6 separate regions of the Homo sapiens genome follow, and all the other regions are linked to region 2. Evidence: promoter capture Hi-C in 16 types of primary human blood cells and fetal thymus (Javierre and others, 2016). All regions are on one chromosome and are shown on one strand. Each heading gives the region's core, a stretch centred on a gene start or on the middle of the fragment in contact. The rest is flanking DNA. Distances are from core to core; before and after follow the strand shown. Region 1 overlaps TANC1 (tetratricopeptide repeat, ankyrin repeat and coiled-coil containing 1). Region 2 holds the start of CD302 (CD302 molecule). Region 3 holds the start of TANC1 (tetratricopeptide repeat, ankyrin repeat and coiled-coil containing 1). Region 4 overlaps WDSUB1 (WD repeat, sterile alpha motif and U-box domain containing 1). Region 5 overlaps WDSUB1 (WD repeat, sterile alpha motif and U-box domain containing 1). Region 6 overlaps TANC1 (tetratricopeptide repeat, ankyrin repeat and coiled-coil containing 1).

The links. Contacts are between HindIII fragments. The CHiCAGO score rates a contact against its expected background, and 5 or more counts as called.
Region 1: a fragment that was not itself captured here is called in contact with the fragment with the promoter of CD302 in region 2 in 1 of 17 cell types (erythroblasts); the score reaches 6.2 in erythroblasts.
Region 3: a contact is called between the fragment with the promoter of TANC1 here and the fragment with the promoter of CD302 in region 2, in 1 of 17 cell types (megakaryocytes). The highest score is 5.8, in megakaryocytes.
Region 4: a contact is called between a fragment that was not itself captured here and the fragment with the promoter of CD302 in region 2, in 1 of 17 cell types (erythroblasts). The highest score is 5.2, in erythroblasts.
Region 5: a fragment that was not itself captured here is called in contact with the fragment with the promoter of CD302 in region 2 in 4 of 17 cell types (endothelial precursors, total B cells, monocytes and 1 more); the score reaches 6.4 in endothelial precursors.
Region 6: a fragment that was not itself captured here is called in contact with the fragment with the promoter of CD302 in region 2 in 1 of 17 cell types (megakaryocytes); the score reaches 5.2 in megakaryocytes.

Annotation. Positions count from the first base shown.
Region 1 is chr2:159,219,137-159,222,262 of GRCh38, forward strand. It overlaps TANC1 (tetratricopeptide repeat, ankyrin repeat and coiled-coil containing 1), which reads left to right. Exons shown (of 27, transcript NM_033394.3): 21 at 102-225; 22 at 556-731. Among named protein-coding and RNA genes, the nearest start is that of MIR6888, 34 kb to the left of the region's middle. The HindIII fragment of the contact is 1,654 bases long and covers 967-2,620 here.
Region 2 is chr2:159,796,841-159,800,142 of GRCh38, forward strand. CD302 (CD302 molecule) reads right to left here and starts at 1,368. Exons shown (of 6, transcript NM_014880.5): 1 at 1,292-1,368. The coding sequence starts at 1,358. The region is part of intron 33 of LY75-CD302 (LY75-CD302 readthrough); the gene reads right to left. LOC124906083 (a long non-coding RNA gene) reads left to right here. Exons shown (of 2, transcript XR_007087273.1): 1 at 1-1,112; 2 at 1,979-3,302. The HindIII fragment of the contact is 1,931 bases long and covers 720-2,650 here.
Region 3 is chr2:158,967,045-158,970,495 of GRCh38, forward strand. TANC1 (tetratricopeptide repeat, ankyrin repeat and coiled-coil containing 1) reads left to right here and starts at 1,596. Exons shown (of 27, transcript NM_033394.3): 1 at 1,596-1,738. RefSeq lists silencers at 1,382-1,491, 1,552-1,631. The HindIII fragment of the contact is 11,476 bases long and covers 1-3,304 here.
Region 4 is chr2:159,259,516-159,262,786 of GRCh38, forward strand. WDSUB1 (WD repeat, sterile alpha motif and U-box domain containing 1) reads right to left here. Exons shown (of 11, transcript NM_001128212.3): 6 at 295-328. Among named protein-coding and RNA genes, the nearest start is that of WDSUB1, 26 kb to the right of the region's middle. The HindIII fragment of the contact is 1,720 bases long and covers 831-2,550 here.
Region 5 is chr2:159,278,772-159,281,804 of GRCh38, forward strand. WDSUB1 (WD repeat, sterile alpha motif and U-box domain containing 1) reads right to left here. Exons shown (of 11, transcript NM_001128212.3): 3 at 990-1,174. Among named protein-coding and RNA genes, the nearest start is that of WDSUB1, 6.4 kb to the right of the region's middle. RefSeq lists an enhancer at 1,271-1,440. The HindIII fragment of the contact is 1,192 bases long and covers 1,116-2,307 here.
Region 6 is chr2:159,160,485-159,163,989 of GRCh38, forward strand. TANC1 (tetratricopeptide repeat, ankyrin repeat and coiled-coil containing 1) reads left to right here. Exons shown (of 27, transcript NM_033394.3): 8 at 2,799-3,062. Among named protein-coding and RNA genes, the nearest start is that of MIR6888, 25 kb to the right of the region's middle. The HindIII fragment of the contact is 1,261 bases long and covers 1,017-2,277 here.

The DNA.
Region 1 (3,126 bases), core at 544-3,043, 580 kb before region 2:
AAGTCATTTGACTATTTTTAAAGGTTGAGAAACCTGCCTGGGTATAGCAGGTGTGGTGGAAAATGCAGCAGGAGGATGGTAATTCCAAATGTCTCTTCCAGATTGTTAGACTGCTGTTGGAACGCGGCTGTGATGTGAACCTAAGTGACAAGCAAGGCCGGACGCCCCTCATGGTGGCTGCTTGTGAAGGGCACTTGAGCACCGTGGAATTCCTCCTTTCAAAAGGTAGCAGCGTGATGCCCTCAAAGGTTTCTTTTGGACGGACACAGAGAGAACTTCAGCAGACCCATTCAGTGCTTTCTGATTCAAATTCTAAGTTTTCTGTTAATGGAAATTTTCTAATAAACAGTAGAGAGAATAGGCAACACAGCCACATGCCTGGTATTCCTCTTCAGCAGCGATGACCATTCTGCCAGCCCATCCGGCCAGTGTCACCCTTCACAGTGCTTGACTGACACTTGGTTCAGGCCGGGTGTTCCGCAGGTGTGAAACAATTTGCTTTCTGGCTTTGTCATCTCATAATGTTCATGTTCTGTGAATGGGCTTTCCTTTCAGGTGCAGCCCTTTCTTCTCTAGACAAAGAGGGTCTGTCAGCATTAAGCTGGGCTTGTCTGAAAGGTCACAGGGCAGTGGTCCAGTATCTGGTTGAAGAAGGAGCTGCAATAGACCAGACAGACAAGAATGGCCGCACACCCTTGGACCTGGCTGCCTTCTATGGCGATGCCGAGACTGTGAGTACCAGCAGGTGTTCCCCACCTCCACCTGCATTGGAAAGAAACCCCAGGAAGTGAACAGCTCAATCCAGGGCCTGCATGAGGTTGTGTCTCAGTGTCATCAGAGAGTGTGTGTGTGTGTGTGTGTGTGTGTGTGTGTGTGTGTGTGTGTCTTGTCAGGGATCTTTCATTTTTCTCTAATTCTGTGACATGCAGTCTATTCCAGGACTTAAGATTTTAGTCGACTCTTAAAAGCTTAAAAATACCTGCTTGCAAATAGCACATACAACAGACACATACGTGAATATGCATACACATGTGCATATGTGATTTTCTCAGTCATCCATATAAATAAAACTTTTGCATAGATCATTTAGAAACTACTTTTATATATGGTAAGTGACTAATCAAATGACTACCTGGTTGCTTTTTTTTTTTAAGTTGTTTTGTTTTTAATTTATTAATTTTTTTTTCCCAAGATGGAGTCTTGCTCTGTTGCCCAGGCTGGAGTGCAGTGGTGCGATCTCGGCTCACTGCAACTTCCGCCTCCTGGGTTCAAGCAGTTCTCCTGCCTCAGCCTCCTGAGTAGCTGGGATTACAGGCATGCACCACCATGCCTAATTTTTGTATTTTTAGTAGAGACAGGGTTTCACCATGTTGGCCAGGCTGGTCTTGAACTCCTGACCTCATGATCCGCCTGCCTCAGCCTCCCAAAGTGCTGGGATTACAGGCGTAAGCCCCTGCACCTGGCTTATTATTAATTTTTGAGACACAGTCTTGCTCTGTTGCCCAGGCTGGAGTGCAGTGGTGTGATGACTGCAGCCTTGTTCTCCTGGTCTCAAGAGGTCCTCCCACCTCAGCCCCCTGAGTAGCTGGGAATACAGGCATGCACCACCGTACCTGGCTAATTTTTAGAGACACGGTTTTTCACCATGTTGCCCAGGCTGGTCTCGAACTCCTGGGCTCAAGTGATCACCCCACCTTGGCTTCTGAAAATGGTAGGATTACAGGCATGAGCCACCATGCCCGGACAAAGTTTTATTTTTAATTGACAAATGATTGTGTATATTTATGGGGTACAGTGATGTTTTGATACTTGTACACATTGTGGAATGATCAAATCAGGCTAATTCATGTATCCATCACCCAAATAGTATTTCTTTTTGGTGAGAGCATTTGAGATCTCTTTTAGCTATTTTGAAATAAAGAATACATTACTGGCCGGGTGCGGTGGCTCATGCCTGTAATCCCGGCACTTTGGGAGGCCAAGATGGGCAGATCACTTGAGGTCAGGAGTTCGAGATTAAGCGAACTTGAGGTCAGGAGTTCGAGATCAAGTGAACTAGTAGATACTATTTTAGTATCTACTAAAAATACAAAAATTAGCTGGGCGTGGTGGCGGGTGCCTGTAATCCCAGCTACTCAGAAGGGTGAGGCACGAGAATCACTTGAACCCGGGAGGTGGAGGCTGCAGTGAGCCAAGATCATACCATTGCACTCCAGCCTGGGCAACAGAGTGAGACTCAGTCTCAAAAAAATAATAAATAAAAGTTATTAATTCTAGTTGCAGTACTGTGCAGTAGATACCAGAAGTTACTCCTCCTGTCTAACTGAATCTTCGTACCCTTTGACCGGTGCCTACCCTTTCCGCAGGTCCCCCTGTCTCCCAGCCTCTTTCTGTTCTCTGCTTCTGTTGTGAGTTCAACTTGTTTAGATTCCACATATAAGTGAGATCATGCTGTCTTTCCGTGCCTGGCTTATTTCACTTAGCCATAATGTCCTTCAGCTTCATCCATGTTGTGGCTAATGACAGGATTTCCTTATTTTAAAGCCTGCATAGTATTTCATCATGTACATATACTGGTTGTTTTTAAAGTGATATGGCATTGCCTAAAAATAATATGGAAAGCTTTGGGCACTATCTTTATCTCTTTGCCAAATGCCCATGTCTAATCGAGGTTTGAGGGAATAAAACCTTGATAAACTGAGAACCGTGAAATGTCTTTCAGGGCAGAAACTGATTTTATCAGGCTCCATGTCCCAGGCACCCAGCAGGTGCCAGAGAAATGGTCAGCTACATGAGAGTTACCAGTTTCCAATAATTCAATACATCTAATGGAAGGACTAGCTGGAGAGACAGATGCTTGCAAACCTGGCAGTGGAAGCCATGGCCCTGTACCTCTGTGCCTTGGTGCTTTTAGAAGGCAGCGCTGTCAGAGTTCAATGGTATAAACTTCAGTACCTTGTAAACTCTACTTCATGTCAGTTTTCAAAAACATACTCAACTAAATCTCACATGTCTACACTTATTTTTCAGCTACCTTCCCACATTGTGTAGTTTATCAAAATTAGAGAAGAGTGAAGGAGCTTAGCATTCCAACATAATTTTTTTAATACCGTGGCAAAAACACAT
Region 2 (3,302 bases), core at 118-2,617:
AATTCGACTAGCCTAAAGTACAAATGCACAGCCTCGCAGAGGGTGGTTTACATGAGAGTTGAGATGTTACTGGCTCGCAAAATGAGGGTGTGCAGAAGGAGGGTTCAGAGACAGCCCAGCTTTGTCTTAGACAAAATTAATGTTCCCAGTCTGAACAATGTGAACATGGGCACATCTTGTTTCTGCCCCTTTGATAGGCAGCAGATGTCACAACCAGTCATAAATGCAGGTCCACAGAAGTTTTCAAGAAAGGAACCTTGGGTTTGTATCCAAGTTCTGAGCTGCTGCTGCCTCCAACACTGAGGTCCACTGAAATATTCCTGTCAGTAGACTTCGAGCAGGCAGTTATTATAAAAACGCAGTGAAATCTGGGGCAAGGGGTGGGGGGGGGGAATCTCTTGCATTTTATTTAAATCTCTTGCACTTTATTTAAGCCCACACAAGTACTCATTTAGTTCTTGTTTATTTTGCTCTTTAATTCCTGGAATTATTCAGTCAGTGGTGTTTTTGGAAGTCTGTGTTCTCCAGAGTCTCCCCATCCACATATTTTTGACATGCTTGTATGGAAATTTTTTAAAAATAAAGACCACGGTCAATAGAATTGTGCATTTTCCTCACGAGTCGTTTTGTAAATGAATGATCACGTGTGTGATTTTTCAGATGTCACTTGCACAACAGCAGACTAGAACTTTAAAACTCCTTGATTTCAGTGAAATCCAAGCTTTGCCTATTCCCGTTCCTCTTCCATCCAGGGGTTATTTGGCTGAACTGTTTTCCTGTTTAAACAACTTGAACACCAACCAACTAGACAAACAGCGCTGCTTGCAAAAGAGGGCCTACTTCCTCCGGCCCCCACCCCCATCCCAGCAACCCCACTCCGGCCGCGCACCAGCAGGGGAAATCGCCACCAACGTCCCCGCTTCTCATTTCAGCCCGAAATTGCCCTGAAACGGCGCCCGTCGTGCGACTCCAAGTCCCTCAGTTCTCCGGCCAACTGGCCTAATTTGGGGGTTCCCTCCCCGCGGAGTGGGGTCTGCGGTGAGGATGTGGACTCCGAGGAAGACAGAGCCCTCCCTTATTCTCGGCCACCTCCCCTCCCCGAGGGCAGGCGGGTGAGAGGTGACCCGGAGCCAGGACCCACGGGGGACGGGCGTGCAGGGAAGGGCGGGATGGCCGGCCGGGTGTTGCGTCTGCGGGCCGCCCTCGGGTGCGCGGGGACGAAGAGCGTGCGTTGGGAAGGGGGCGAAGGCGGTCGCGCACGGTCCCGGCGAGGGACTACGTAAGGGCTTACCCGCGACGGCAGCAGCGGCGAGGCCCAGCAACGGCAGCAGGAGCGCGGGCAGCGCGGCCCGGAGCATGACGGCGGGTGCGGGTGGGCGGCAGCGGCTGCGCGGCCGGAGAGGAGCGGGGCGGGGCGGGAGCGGGGGCGGTGCTTCTCGCGTGCGAGTTTAATCCCCCCCCCGGGCGGAACGTGAACGGCACTGGGGGCTCCCACCAGGAGAACCCGGGTGTCCCGTCCCGCAGGAGCGGCTGGCGCGCGGCCTTCTGGAACTTCTAATTTTTGTTTTTTAAACTTTTCATTTGAATTGAAATAATTTAGGACTTTCGAAAATGTTGCAAAAACAGCACAAGAGATTTCCGTAACCCTTCAGCCAGCTTCTCTAAATATTGACATTGTATATAACGCCAGTGCAGTGATCAAACACAGGGCACTCGCACTGGGATAATGCGATTAGCTAATCTACAGCACTTACCACATTTCATTAATTGCCCCTCTAAGGGTCCTTTTCTGTTCCAAGATTCAATCCAGGATCATACATTGCATGTCGTGTCTCCTTAGTCTCCCTTTAATCTAGGACGGTTCTCTGTCATTCTTTTTCTTTCACGATCAAACCACATTTAAAAAGTACTGGCCAGTCGTTTTGTAGAATGTCCCTCAGTTTCATTTTGTCTGACATTTCCTTCTAATTGGATTCAGGTTGCGCTTTTTTGGGAAAGAGTTCCCCAGAAGTGATGTACGTGCTCGAGAAGGACAAGATGTCGATGTCTCATCACTGATGTTAACTTGGATCAGTTGGTTAAGGTGGCGTTTGCCAGCCTTCTTCTTTGGATCTACTGGCCAGAATCCTCCTTTTCAAAGACCCCTTTCAGTGGACTATGTCTCTTAGACAACTTTTCTCTGTTACCAGCTCCTGGATGAAGAGTCTTTAAGCTATGTTTGCTACAATGTATGCATAAACTGTGCAATTATACTTCACCCATGAGGGCCTCTGGACAACACTAGCCAGGGTCAAGCAAGGGTGCTTGTTTAAGCCTCATGTCATTGGCAAAAGAGTTCTATAAAATCAAGTCTAAACTCAACAACGTGAAAACAAATGACCCAGTTAAAAAAAATGGTCAGATGATCTGAATACACACGTCATCAAAGAAGTTATATAATGGCAAATAGATGAAAAGATGCTCAACATCATATGTCATTGCTGAATTGTATATGAAAACAAAAATGAAATACCACTACATACCTATTAGATACCAGAATCCAAAAACACTGACAAGACCACATGCTGGCAAAGATGTGGAGCAAAAAGAACTCTCATTCAATGCTGGTGCAAATGCAAAATGGTACAGCCACTTTGGAAGACAATTTGGAAGCTTCTTCCAAAACTAAACGTACTCTTACCATACCATCTAGCAATCACAACTCCTTGGTATTTATCCAAATGAGTTAAAAACTTACATACACACAAAAACCTGCACATGAATGTTGATAGCAGCTTTATTCATAATTGCCAGAACCTAGAGGCAAACAAGATGTCCTTCAATAAGTGAATGGATAAACAATGGCACATCCAAACAATGAAATGTTACTCAGTACCAAAATTAAATGAGCTATCAAGCCACAAAAAGACATGGAAGAACTTTAAATATGTATTGCTAAGAGAAAGAAGCCAATCTGAAAAGACTGCATACTATATGATTCCAACTATATGACATTTTAGACAAGGCAAAACTATGGAGACAGTAAAAAGATAAATGGTTGCCAGGGGTTGGGGTGGGAAGAAGGAGGGGATGAATAGATGGAACACAGAGGATTTTTAGAGCCATGAAATTATTCTGTAGGATACTGTAATGGTAGATGTGTATCACTATACATGTGTCAAAACCCATAGAATGCACAAAACGAAGATGAACCCTAGTGTGGACAATGGACTTTAGTTAATAATGTGTCAATATTGGCTCATCCACTGTAACAAATGTACCTGCTAATGCAAGATGTTAATAATTGGGGAAACTGGGGTATG
Region 3 (3,451 bases), core at 346-2,845, 830 kb before region 2:
ATTAAGGTTGCTGTCTGGCTTTTTTGTCTGTTGAAAGATTTCGTTTCAAGATAAATTAAATAAAACATTACCATATTTTTCAGCAATGAAACATTTCAGATGGAGAAAGAAGTCAATAGTTTTCTGGTTTAAGTTTGTATTTTTATTTTCAATATTCTATCCTGCCTTGTTTCGGGAATACTTCAAGGCCGCTGATGTGTTTACTGCTCAAATATCAACACAGCAGTAATCAGGCCTTTGAAACTATGGGTGAAAAATCCAGTCCATTTCAGTCTTTTTAATTTATGAAAAGAGATTGTGTGGCATTTTGCTTCCTGTCCCTTTTCATAAGAACTTTAAATATGGACACCCCTCCTGCTGGTGTCTTTATATAGGGAAGCTCTGCGTGAGGTTGAAGTTTTTATGAGGAAACTTGTTTAAAACACAATCGTATTTTAAGGCGGGTTTGCCACAGCAAGGTTAGGGGTTACCAATAAATCGGTTTACAGCAACTTCTCTATTCTCTGCTCCAGACACACCAATGGGGTGACCCGTGCACAATTCCCGCTGGCCACACAAGGCAGCGGCAGTTCTAGTTGATCCTTCCTTCGTCAACTAGATCAACGAAGGCTGTCTTAGAGAGCTTCGGGTATTAAGTGAGCAGAGTCCCTTAGGCCAATTTGGCTGCCTGGGATTCCTGGGAGGATCTTGGAGAACCCAGGACACCCGAATCCCTAGTCCCTATCCTGGTTTTTGCTCTGCTGGAGAATAACAAAACATTTTGGGAACTCAGGAGTTTAATTTACTGCCACCAACCGACAAAATAATAGCATCTTTGTGTGTTCTCTCCCCTCCGTCCCTCCCACCTCCTTCCGACAGAAGCACGACGCTGGCCCTCTGTGAATGTAGCGCAGACAGCACGGGCCAGCCCGGAGCGGTCGCAGGAGGCTCCAGACCCGCGGCCCCAGGGACGCCCGGGAAATCACCGGCCCCAGAACGTCCCCCATTCCTTTTGGGAAATAAAAAGACGCAGCCGGTGAGATGCCTTCTTAGACCTTCCAGCTCATTTAGCTGATTCTGGCCCCAGAAAGTGTGTTTGTGTTTGTGTGTAGTTAAGTGAGGCAGAGAAAATCCAAGAAAGCCGCACAAGCCACCCCAAAGCGTCCACGGAAACTCCAGCTCGGTTAATTGCTCCCATATGTCCTCCTCGGCTGTGGTAAAAAAGCAGCGAGGAGGGAAGGCCGGGTCGCTTTATTGATTTTGAAGAGGCTGTAAAAAAGACTATGGCCCATCTCATTTTGGTCCCAGAGGGGCCTAGGCGCAGCCCCGGGGGACCCGGTGCCCAGAGGGATGGTAGGGTGCTTCAGGCCCGGACCTGGCGCCGAGAGGCGGGACAAGGGGACCTCGCGCCCAAGCCCCGCGGAAAGTTCGCGCTCCGCGCTCCAGCCGGTCCCTGGATCCGCCGCAGCCCGGGGCGGGGAGGGGCGCGGGAGGCGCGGCCGGGGCGGGCGCGCGAGAGGAAGGTGCCTTCGGGAACACGCGCAAGGGCGGGGATTCGCGCTGCCAATGAGGCCCCGGTGTGGGCCGAGCAAGGCGGGGGGACGGGCCGGAGCGGAGGCTTTGCTGTGGCAGCTGCTGGAGCGGCGGCCGCCTCGGGAGCCGGAGGAGAGGCAGCCGCGGAGCGCCGAGCTGGCCTCGCCCCGAGGCCCGGCCCTGGGTGTGGGGAACCGCGCTGAGGAGCTGGAAACTTTCCCGGCAGGTAACTCCCGCAGCCCGGACTCCGCCGCGGGCCTGCGAGCGCCCCGGGCATGGCCAGCTGCCAGTGTGCGGAGAGGTCGAGAGGGACCCGGGGTGGAGAGGGTGATGGGAGAAGGGAAAGGCGTGTGGGAAAGTTTCTGGAGCGCCCCCTCCTCCGCCGGGCACACCCGGGAGCTTTCCGGGAATAGGCACAGACATGTTGGGCGCCCCGGGCCTTGGTCTCTCGGCGGCTTTGGGGAGTCCGCACCTTCCTTGCGCGGTTCCCCCGCGCCGGACCGAGCCGGCCTCCCCTGGAACCGGTGTGGTGGGAACCGGGAACGCTTGGGGCACGCTCGAGTTCTGGGACCACCCCCGCCCGGCGCGCCCGCTCGCCCCCTTTCCCGCCTTCTCTGTAGCCCTCGGGCTTGGCAAGGGCCTGGGCTACGCCTGGTACCTGGCGCGGGGGAGGCGGGGGGAGGCGCGCCTGGCACCGCGGGGTCCTGGGCGCCCCCCGGAGTGTTGGGGTGCGCGGGTCGCGAAGTTGCCGAGAGAACTTAAGCCGGAGGCATGGTATTGCCCCAGTCTGGGCTGAAAGTCTATTGCTTTGCTTCCAAGAACACTGCGATTAGCATATCCACACTCCTTTATTGGGGGTGGGGGTGAGTTAGGATTAGACGTTGGGGGTTTTTCTTTAGGGGTGGGGCGCTGAGAAGAGCGGTAATTGTCAAGATTGTGAGCCCCCTTGTTCTTGGATGCAGAGTGGTCATTTTCGGGGGACGATATCAGGGCACTGGCTTCCTGGAGGACTTTGGGGTGCGGGCGCGCAGCGCTGTGGGTGTGCGGGGCTCCCGGCTTTGGCGCGGCGGCTTTCCGGAACGCCTGGCTGGGAAGGAAGCTCTAGGCATTGTGTGGTGTGTTTGCAGACAGAAAGGTCCCTGGACCGGTGTTCTCAAAACTTACTGGACTTATTGTGTAAAGCTCCGGGAGGAAATGTGGCGTTGGCCAGGTAGAAACGCGGCGCTGCGGCCAAGGGGCGGAGGACGCCAGGCTCGGCAACGGCCTTCTCCCAGCCCCCTCCTGCCAGCTCCAGATCCGCGTGCCTCCAGTGTTGGGACCGTTCTCAGTGGCGTTGTTCCCTGCTGGAGTTAACTTGGGAGGTGAGGAGGGAACTTTCATCTTGAACTTGACCCCAGAAGCAGCGTCGTCCGTACAGGTTACAAGGTAAATGGAAGCTGAGTCTTAACGTGGGTTGGACCGCAAACTCTGGCTGGCGCGGAAAGGAAGTTCCTGGTTCAGAATCTTTGAGGAAAGGGCTCAAGATTGCTGAGATCGCTCGCTCTGGAAATGCCAGACACACCAGACTGCAGAAGTTAATGCGTGTTTGGAGGGGTGGGGGTGGGAGAGGAAAGGAGAAACCTGGTTAGTTGGCACAGAGGGCTGGTATTTCTCTGTAGTGGAAATGAAGGGAGTCTGCGTCTCTGCTTTCACCAGATCCGCTACCCTCTTTTTTCCTTCCTTGGTCATCTTTATTCCTGCCAGGCTGGCACTCCTGAGGCAGGGGAGGGGAAGGAGAGGAAAGCAGTTGTGAAGCTTCCTGGGTCAGCCTGGAGGTATTTCAGATCTGCTACTAGGAAGATTCCAGGATTTTAACAGCTGCTTCTTGATTGCTGGGAATGAAGGAGTTTATGAGCGGCTGAGACTACTTCATTATAGAAGTAGTCTGAGTGTTTTACTC
Region 4 (3,271 bases), core at 441-2,940, 540 kb before region 2:
AAGTTTAATAATTGATTGTATGTGATGTTTTGAACACTGGTGCTCTTTAAATATGTATAGTTTATGATCACATTTAAAATCTATCCATCTTAAAATCATTACTGAAATATTTAAGGGCTTGTTGCAGAACCAATATCTTACTTGCGTAACTATTTTAGCATTTGTGAAAATATTTATGTTCTTAGTCATACTAAACAGAAAAAATATATACTTTTTCTACCAGGCCTAACTTGAAGTTCAGTAGTCTAATAAACATAACTTTCATAGATCACCACAAGATTTTTAAATACTTACAGTATCATATACTATGACAGACTTATCCACTGACCTTAAAAGAAAATAAATTATAGGTGAAAAGTTCTATAAAAACAAAGTACAGCATTTATGTAATTAGTATTTTTAAGTAATTTTAGTAACTTTTCTAGAAAAGACAGATATTAACATACATTTAGAATGCAATCCTTTTGTTCATATGCATGAAAACTTTAATTCAAAAAACTACACGTGGCCAGGCGCAGCGGCTCACGCCTGTAATCCCAGCACTTTGGGAGGTTGATTCGAGCGGATCATGAGGTCAGGAGTTTGAGACCAGCCTGGCCAACATGGTGAAACCCATGTCTACTAAAAATACAGAAAAAAATTATCCGGGCATGGTGGCGTGCACCTGTAATCCCATCTCCTTGGTAAGCTGAGGCAAGAGGATGGCCTGAACCTGGGAGGTGGAGGTTACAATGAGCCAAGATCATGCCACTGTACTCCAGCCTGGGTGGCAAAGTGAGACTCTATCTCAAAAAAAACAACATGCCATATATAAAATTTAGAAAATTATAAGCTTTATTAAAACAATAGTATATACTATTTACGCTACATGACCATGAACAGAACAAGCATCTCTGATATATAAATAAAACACGACTCTATAACAAGTTAGTAACTGAATGGGAAAAACCACAAGGAAAAGCTATTATTTGCTACTTGGTTTTGTTTCAGATAGCACTATTCTTTACCATTGATAAGGCGTGCCTTAAATGCTAATCAATGTATATATGTTTTGATTATGATCCATTTTTGAAAATTATAATTCTAAACTTGATGTTGACTACATGATTCCTTGTAATGGTATAAAAATTAAAAGCAGACATCTGGGGTTATGCTAGCAAAGAAAAAGAACATCACACACACAAAAATACAACATTATAACAAAATGAGTAATTTAAAACAATGGATAAATATGCCTCTATCTGGCATTTCTACCCCCCTTGGAAACAGGCTTTTATGCCAGAACAATATACACTACAAGGTGAAAAAACATCTGCAATACAAGTGGTACCACACTCTGCAGAACATTAATATTTGTACTTATTAAGGGAGCTGATCACAGTCTGACCACAGGATTCACACCTATTAGCTTAAAATTCCTTGTTCAGTAGACCCTCCAATGTTGATGATGGATACTGACTACAGAATCTTTGTCATAAGTTCAAAATAGAAATTATACTTTAAAAGTTCAAAGATATAAAATAAAACACAAGAACTTGGGAAGCATATACTGTCAGCCCTCCATATCCACAGGTTTCCTATCTGTGAATTCAACCATGAATCAAAATATTCAAGAAAAACATAATAAATTGAAATAGGAAAAAAATAACAAAAAATAATACAAATAAAAATACTGCAAAACTATTTACATAGCCCTTACATTGTATTAGGTATTATAAGTAATCTAGAGATGATTTAAAGTATATGGATAATGTGTGTAGGTTACATGCAAATATCACACCATTTTATATAAGGGACTTGAGCATCCACAGGTTTTGGTATCCAAGGTAGCAGTCCTGGACCCAATCCCCTGCAGATACCAACGGATAACTGTAATGCATTCCAGATGCAAAAAGAATTATAGCTTTCAATGTTAAACTGCATCCAAAATACAGTGAGAAATAGTATTGACAGCTAACACTACGTGAGTATGTATGTGATGGACATAATTTACAGACACTTTTATTTAATCCTAAGTTCTTCAAGGTACAAGTTCTTATTTGTGAAATATCTGAAATTCTTAGGCCAAATTCTGCTATTTTGAGCATCCTTAAAACACACACACAACTAAAGAGTGATGTCAGCAAGATGGCAGAGTATAACTTCCCATGCTTGTCCCCTCACAGGGACATCAATTTGAAAAAGTATCCACACACACACAAAAATACTTTCATAACAGCTAAGAAAACCAGGTCTCCAGCTATAGCTACATGGCTGGGGGTCAGGAGCATGTTAAATATTACTTTTCAAGATTATATGATGAGATGAAAGGAAAACTGGTCAACTGAAACTCATATATATATATATATATATATATATATATATATATATATATATATATATTTTTTTTTTTTTTTTTTTTTTTTTTTTTTTTTAAATAAATGAACTGGTCATTGGGTGAACTGGCTTTTGGTTAATTGACCTAGAGCCCAGTTCTGCTTAAGCCTGACTTTTCTAAAGGGATAATTAGCCAAAATTTCATCTGGAGCTGGCTAGAGCCCAGCCATGCTAAGCTTACAAAGAAAATGGTTCTCTCATCTGGCCCCCATTACACTGTCTCAAATAAAATCCTCATTGGTACCACAAATCAAAAACAAAACCCCAAAATTAAAAAGAAATCCCACTTTCCTAGACTACCACCAGAGACAATTCAAACCAACTCATCACTTAATAAGCAGGATTATCCTTAGTGATCTCTATGAGCATTGGATTGGGAAGACAGAAATCAGTGCGACAGGCAAGAGTCCACATATGGGAACGGCAAGCAGTAAGGCTGAAAACACAGCCCCGAACAAAAATACAAAGCACCCTGAGTGTCTGCCCAAGGAATCTGGACGATTTCACAGGCCACAGCTAGCCATGAGGGCAGTGGAATAAGTTCACTTGCTGATGAGGTATAAAAAGGAATTTGAGAAGCGCAAGGCCAAACATGAATAAACCAGTAGGAGACCACTGAATCCATGGAAAAAAAAACAAAAAACGAAAATTATAAACACATGAACAGACCTGCAGGCTCTGGAAGAAAGGATTTTAAACTCACTTCCTATTGCCTTTAGTTTAACTAATGATGATTCCAAGGAAGATGCAATAGGATTTGATAATTCATTAGATTTTGAGGAAGGTAAATTAGGGTTAGGGAAAAATAACAGAAGTTTTCAATATTTTGAGATTTGAGTTTGAGAGATCAGGAGAATAAAAGCCAACTTACATAGACACAAAATAGTTTGAAACT
Region 5 (3,033 bases), core at 462-2,961, 520 kb before region 2:
TTTGCTTTTGGGATTTGAGATCTTAATCATATCTTAACAAGCCACTGATGGGCTTGAAAAGGGGGGAAATACCAAAACCTTTCTGTCTACTCTTTGGACCTGTTTTGTCCAATAGGGCAGTGACTGGCCATATGTGGGTATCAAAGACTTGAAATGCAGCTAGTCCAAATTGAAATGTACTATCTGTAATATACATACCAGATTTCAAAGACTTAGTACGAAAGATAAAATCTTATTAATAATTTTTATTATCAATTATTGAAACTACATTGTAGATATATCAGGATATATTATTAATTAATTTCATCTACTACTACATTTTAAATTTTCCTAAGTGGCTTGCATTACGTTGTTATGGATAGCACTGGTCTGGTAACAAGACTGCAGGGGGACAAAAGCTACAGAACTCCCATCCACTAACACGGAAAATGAAAACTCTAAAGAAAGAACTTTCCAAATCACTGTACCTATTTAAAACCAAGAGACTACATTCAGGAGTTCTGTTTATTTCTAAAAAACTAATTGTGTTGGCAAACATTTTATAAATTTAGCTTTTCGAAGATTAAATTAGTAAATGGAAAACACAGCTTCTATTTCCAATTTTTAAAGTTTACATTTCTACTTGAATATCAATATAGTGTTCTTTTAATTGCAATTGTATCAATAGGGTTAGGTCCTCTAAATTGCCATATCCAAGGAATCTGAATCTGTTGTACCAATTTGAGCCACCCCCTGCATATAATAAAGAATGTAATTTTCTTGCAGGAAACTCCAAGACCAAAAAAAAAGAATGCAATTTTCTCATATATTTTTTCATGATTTCATTTTTGGTCAAAAAAGAGAGAAGGATAATCCCTTTACAGGAATAAATTAAGAGGGCTCCTCACTCTACTAATGATAACATAAAAAAGAATAAAAGAATGAAAAGTCATATACAGCACAAATTACAAATAGGAATTTCTAGTGCTTAAAAGAATAAAATAACCAACCAGAAACTGGCTGTGAAGAAAAATCGCAGCAGGTAATTCCAAGATCATGTGCTTTTTCACTATGCAGACACCTCATTTTATCATCCCACACTGTTAAATCACCACATGAGGAGCCAGTGACAAAGAAGCTTCCATTAGGAGAAAATGCACATGCCGCCAAGGAGCCATCTTTAACACTACCACATCTGAAATAAAAGCAAAAAGTGGGTTTTCATTTCAGAGTATCCTTTACTTTATACCACAGTCTCTAACAGCAGCTTGATACAGTGAAAAGAGAATAAATGGCTATCACAGAACTAGAGAGAAAGGACAACTGATGCCTACAGAAATAAAATATCATTTATATGCTATGAACTGAGATATACTGTCTAAAAGCAAGGGAGGATTTAAATATCCTCCCTTAAACATTTTAACTGGTATGTTCAAGCCTAAATTACAAACCAAAGTCCACATATCTTCATATTTTTCCACAGGGCAAATCAGTATAAACACATTAAAATATGTAAAACTTAACCAGAAAAGCAATGACAAGCAACATCAACTACAGCCATATTTTTTAAAAAAGGTAAGATAAAACTATTTTTATTGGAAAATATGTTATTGGAGTCAAAGGTACTTACAACGTCTGTATTAAAAATTACCCAGAAGTGGCCGGGCGCGGTGGCTCACGCCTGTAATCCCAGCACTTTGGGAGGCCGAGGCGGGCGGATCACGAGGTCAGGAGATCGAGACCATCCCGGCTAAAACGGTGAAACCCCGTCTCTACTAAAAATACAAAAAATTAGCCGGGCGTAGTGGCGGGCGCCTGTAGTCCCAGCTACTTGGGAGGCTGAGGCAGGAGAATGGCGTGAACCCGGGAGGCGGAGCTTGCAGTGAGCCGAGATCCCGCCACTGCACTCCAGCCTGGGCGACAGAGCGAGACTCCGTCTCAAAAAAAAAAAAAAAAAAATTACCCAGAAGCAATGGCGAGGTCTTCAAATATAAATTATTTATGAAAGGAAAATGCTGTGGGCAAGTTAAAATTACGTTAGGAAGACAGGGAGGCACGGTGCTGAAGTATTAGTATTTGCTCAATTAGGAAAAATAAGCTGTTAAAAACCCAACAATTAACACACTGTCCCATCCAGCAGGGTATCTATCATTTATATATAATTAATTACATAGTTTAGGGATAGTTATGCTATAGAGCCAGAAGTCATCATTGGATAAGTAAGATTCCTAGTTGACAGCTGGATTTCATGCATATAAAAAAGATATTTGGCATAAGTGTTTATTAACACCACTTAAAACATGTCACCCTCTTCAACCCAAAGACCTAAGCTTAAATGAGCAATAGTTGTTGACCAACTAGCATTTGTGCTCTAAAAGATGTTGGGAGACAGAAGGAGGGGGAGGTACACTAGGCTCTTTTAATTGGTAATTACTTAAAAGCGCATGGTTTCTAATGTACTTAATGTCATCTAAAAGTGTTAGCGTGAAAATTTTAACTTTTTTTTTTGAGACAGGGTCACTCAGTCACTCAGGCTGGGGTACAGTAGTGCAATCCTAGCACACTGCAGCCTCAAACACCTGGGTTCAGGCGATCCTCTGACCTCAGCCTCTGGAGTAGCGAGGACTACAGGCACACGCCACCACGCCTAGCTAATAAAAATGATAACTTCTGTTACGTATATTTTGCCACAATATAAATAAATGTGAATAGTTTTAATGTTGTTAAATTGCAATACAACATTACCAATGTAAATTAATTGGTTTTTTCCAAAAGAGTTTTTCAGGCGAGTTTTTAAGAAATGATAACACATCACCACCACACCAGGCATGAGGTTCCTTCTTCTGGGCTTGGTCATTCATCCAGCAAGAATTGCAGTCACAGAAATAACTGCATCTCTTAGCTGAGCTTTACATACTATTAAAGCTTTACATACTATGGGCCGGGCGCAGTGGCTCATACCTGTAATCCCAGCCCTTTGGGAAGCCAGCTGAAGCGGGTGGATCACATGAGGTCAGGAGTTCAAGAGCAGCCTGGCCAACATGGGGAAACCCA
Region 6 (3,505 bases), core at 397-2,896, 640 kb before region 2:
AAGAACCAGCTTTCTCTTCTTGGGGACTCCGGGGCTGCCATGTTTGGTGTTGTTCTTAGGTTATGCAGGGAAGCCAGACTGATTTGGCCTTCATCTGCTCAGCTGGATCTGCCTCAGGGCTCGGATGGAGCTGAGCCAAGATGAGAGTGTCTGGGCTTCCACCTGTGTAGGCTACATCTGATATTGAATCCCAGGAAGGAGTGTCAATGGAGTGGCTTCAGATTTTCCAGCCTCCCTGCCTCTGAGAACCCTGGGACATGTGGACCGTGGAATGCCTCTCTCACAGGAACTTTGTGAGGGCAGCAGAAGGGCTGCCTCTTCTTCCTCACTAGTCTCCTTCATATAAACACTGACCTTACAATATGTTCATTTCTAAATGGTTACCCCATCTGGGACTTCTCTTCGCAGTGACTGCTCCTGCAGCTGAGCCCTTCCTCCCCCACCCCTTTTCCTTCCTCTCCCTGCCAGGACCTGAGTGTTACCCCTCCGCCCCCTCTCCCCCTCCACGAGATGCTGGGCACAGTGTAGGGCACATGTCTGCCAGTGAGAGCCACACCTTCCACCTGTCCTGCCATCAGGAGCTCTGACCTGGCCTTCCCAGCCATCCTCAGCTGCTCCATGGGTCCCTGAGGTCCTGATTGCAGTGCTGTCACTTGTAACAGGAAGTGAGCTAAGTCCTTATTTCCCCTGCTTGAGGTCCTAGTTAGGACTCAGATCTTTGGGGTTTGATTCAGAAGTGCTTGGCACTTAGGGAGAGCACTTTGACTTTTGGTTTAATTTTTCAATTTACAAATACGTGCTTTCCAATGTAACAGCCACAAAAATAAAACCAAACAAATCCCCTATCTCCCTAGCCTGGAACTCTTCCTGTCACTTGGATGTTGGAGTAGCCTGTGAACCTAACTTATTACAATATGTCTGAGAAAAGCATTTTGAGTTGCAAATGCTGGATTTAAATGTGAAGGTTTGTAACACCACAATCTGTGTTATGGGATGGCCCCCATTTTTATGCTTCAAGCTTATTAACAGGATTACCATTAATAAGCAATAATCTTATCAATAAATTAGACCACTCCTGAAAAACATTAGCACACTTCTAGCATATAGCAAACCTTCAGTAAATGCTAGCTTCTGCTGTCAACACCACCATTGGCATTTTTATGATAGAAAGAGTCATACTTGCTATGCCTATGTTCATATAAATGGTCTATTTAAAAACACAAGGAAGGCTGTGATTGATTCCAAAGAGGTGGAGGTATGGTTTAATACTGCTGATGGAACACTGGCAAATGCTGGGAATCATAACGATGGGCACCCAAAATCAGATCCTGAACTCTGGTAAGTGAGATTAAGTGTAGTGTCTCTGACCACAAATGGAATTGAAGTTTATTCATTTGCTCATTCATTCAATTAGCAAGCATTTATTGAGCACTTACTATGTGCTGTGCTGTGCTATTCAGAAAAGGAAAAGATAGCCATGGATACTCTAGGGAAGGCTTCAGCATTTATGTGGGATTTTTTAAAATAGGCAACCAGAGAGGGTGATAAGTCCAGGCTGCAGCAGCAGGAGGAGTAAAGACAGTCAGAATTGTGACAGGATGTCCTGGGCCACTGCAAGGAAATAGTTTTGTCTTTACTTCTAAACCGTAAAGAATATAAACAAAGCTAAACCCTTCAGACCCTTTGATCCTAAATAACTGACCCTGAGCTAATTTACCAGCCTTCTGATACAGTGTGTATCATCTTGGTGTGTGGCTAAAGCAGCCTGATCCAGGAGCTGGGTTCTGAATGCACTTTGGCCCTGTGCACTCCCATTTAACAGGCGTGGAGTTGAGGGCCTAGGTGACTGGAATCCAGATAGGGAAAGAGGCATCGGTGGACATGGCCCCTGTTCTCAAGGACGCAGCCAGCGTTAGTTCTAACAGTGGGGCAGTGTGAGTGGCCCAGGTGATGATGACCTGTGGTTGCAAGGGGATCCCATATGGCTCAGCATCTTTAAATTAGAAGTGACTCTTTGTAGAAGCTATGTAGGGTGAGTATTGCTTCGCTTTTTGACCATGTTCTTTCTGCTCTTTTGCCAAGATGTTTACAAAAGGTTTTTTGTACCTTTTTTCTGTGCTGGTTTTCTTTCTTGGAGATTAAATGTGAATTCTGCAGTCATAGTATACCTTCTCCTGCTGGTACTTCACCTGCGCTGGATATGGGAAGGTTTTCCATTTCGTGTTGCTGAGGAAATAATAAGTCAGTCTCTCTGGATCATCTTGAATAGATGTTATAAGCTTTAAGGGTCAAATTCTCTGTTTGACTTTATAATTGTATTTTTGTTTCTAAAGATTTTCTCCTGCACCGTTTCTGCATTAACCATTCTGTTGTTTGTTCCCACTCCCCCACCCCCAGCAAATGTTTTTAATTTGGAAAGTATATTTAAAGGTTCAAAGGAATTTAATGAGAAATGAATTCTTTTGTGAGTAATCTTTGTTAAAAAGAGGATACATTATCTCCAGGTTACATAATTTTACTCTTAACTCTGATACTTTTTAGACAATTTTTTTCATTATCTTCCTATCAGAGTTTCTCCCTCGCTCCTCTTCTCTGTAGAGTGATTTAGCAGCTTATTTCCCCTGGTAAGCCACATTCTTCTAATTTACCAAAATACATTGTATGGAACATACTTTGATAAAAATCTGTGTGGACTGGAAAACTTTCCATTGATCCTGGGGAGGGCAGTGTGCATGTTTTAATTCTTCAGCCCCAGCTGTGCCTGGCCTCCTTCAAAGTATTTTGGTCTTTCATTTCAGCCACAATTACAAGTTCATCCGAAAATGATGACCGGAGTGGCTCCAGTTTGGAATGGAATAAAGATGGAAACCTAAGATTAGGGGTTCAGAAGGGAGTGCTTCATGACCGCAGGGCAGATAACTGCTCCCCAGTGGCAGAAGAGGAGACCACCGGGTCAGCAGAGAGCACGCTGCCCAAAGCAGAATCCTCAGCTGGAGATGGTCCAGTCCCTTATTCTCAGGGCTCCAGCTCACTAATAATGCCACGGCCCAACTCAGTTGCAGGTAAGGCCACACCTTTCCCTGGAAGGATTATCTCAGGGATACCAAGGTGCCCTGTGTTCACTGTCTTCACATGGGAAGACACTCCAGATACAAGCCAGCTTCGTGGCCGTGGGTCAGGCACTTACCTTTTCTAAGCCTCAGTTTACTAATCTGTAAACACAATAAGGCTGTACTTAATGGTCTTTAAGTGATCCTTCTGCTCTGGAATTCTTTAAATCGATTATTTGGACTGTCAGGCTCTTTGTATATAAGAGAAGAAAGTATAAAAACTCTCCTCTCGGTTTTTGTTTTAAGCCTTAGAAAATTCATTACTGTTTATTACCTCCTGGTAAATGGGAATTGTTGAGTGAGTTTGTTAATATCAGCTCGAGGATCTTCTTACCAAACTTACAAACTTATTTTTGTCTAATTGAGGCCGATTGTACAGGCAAGAGGGCCGAATT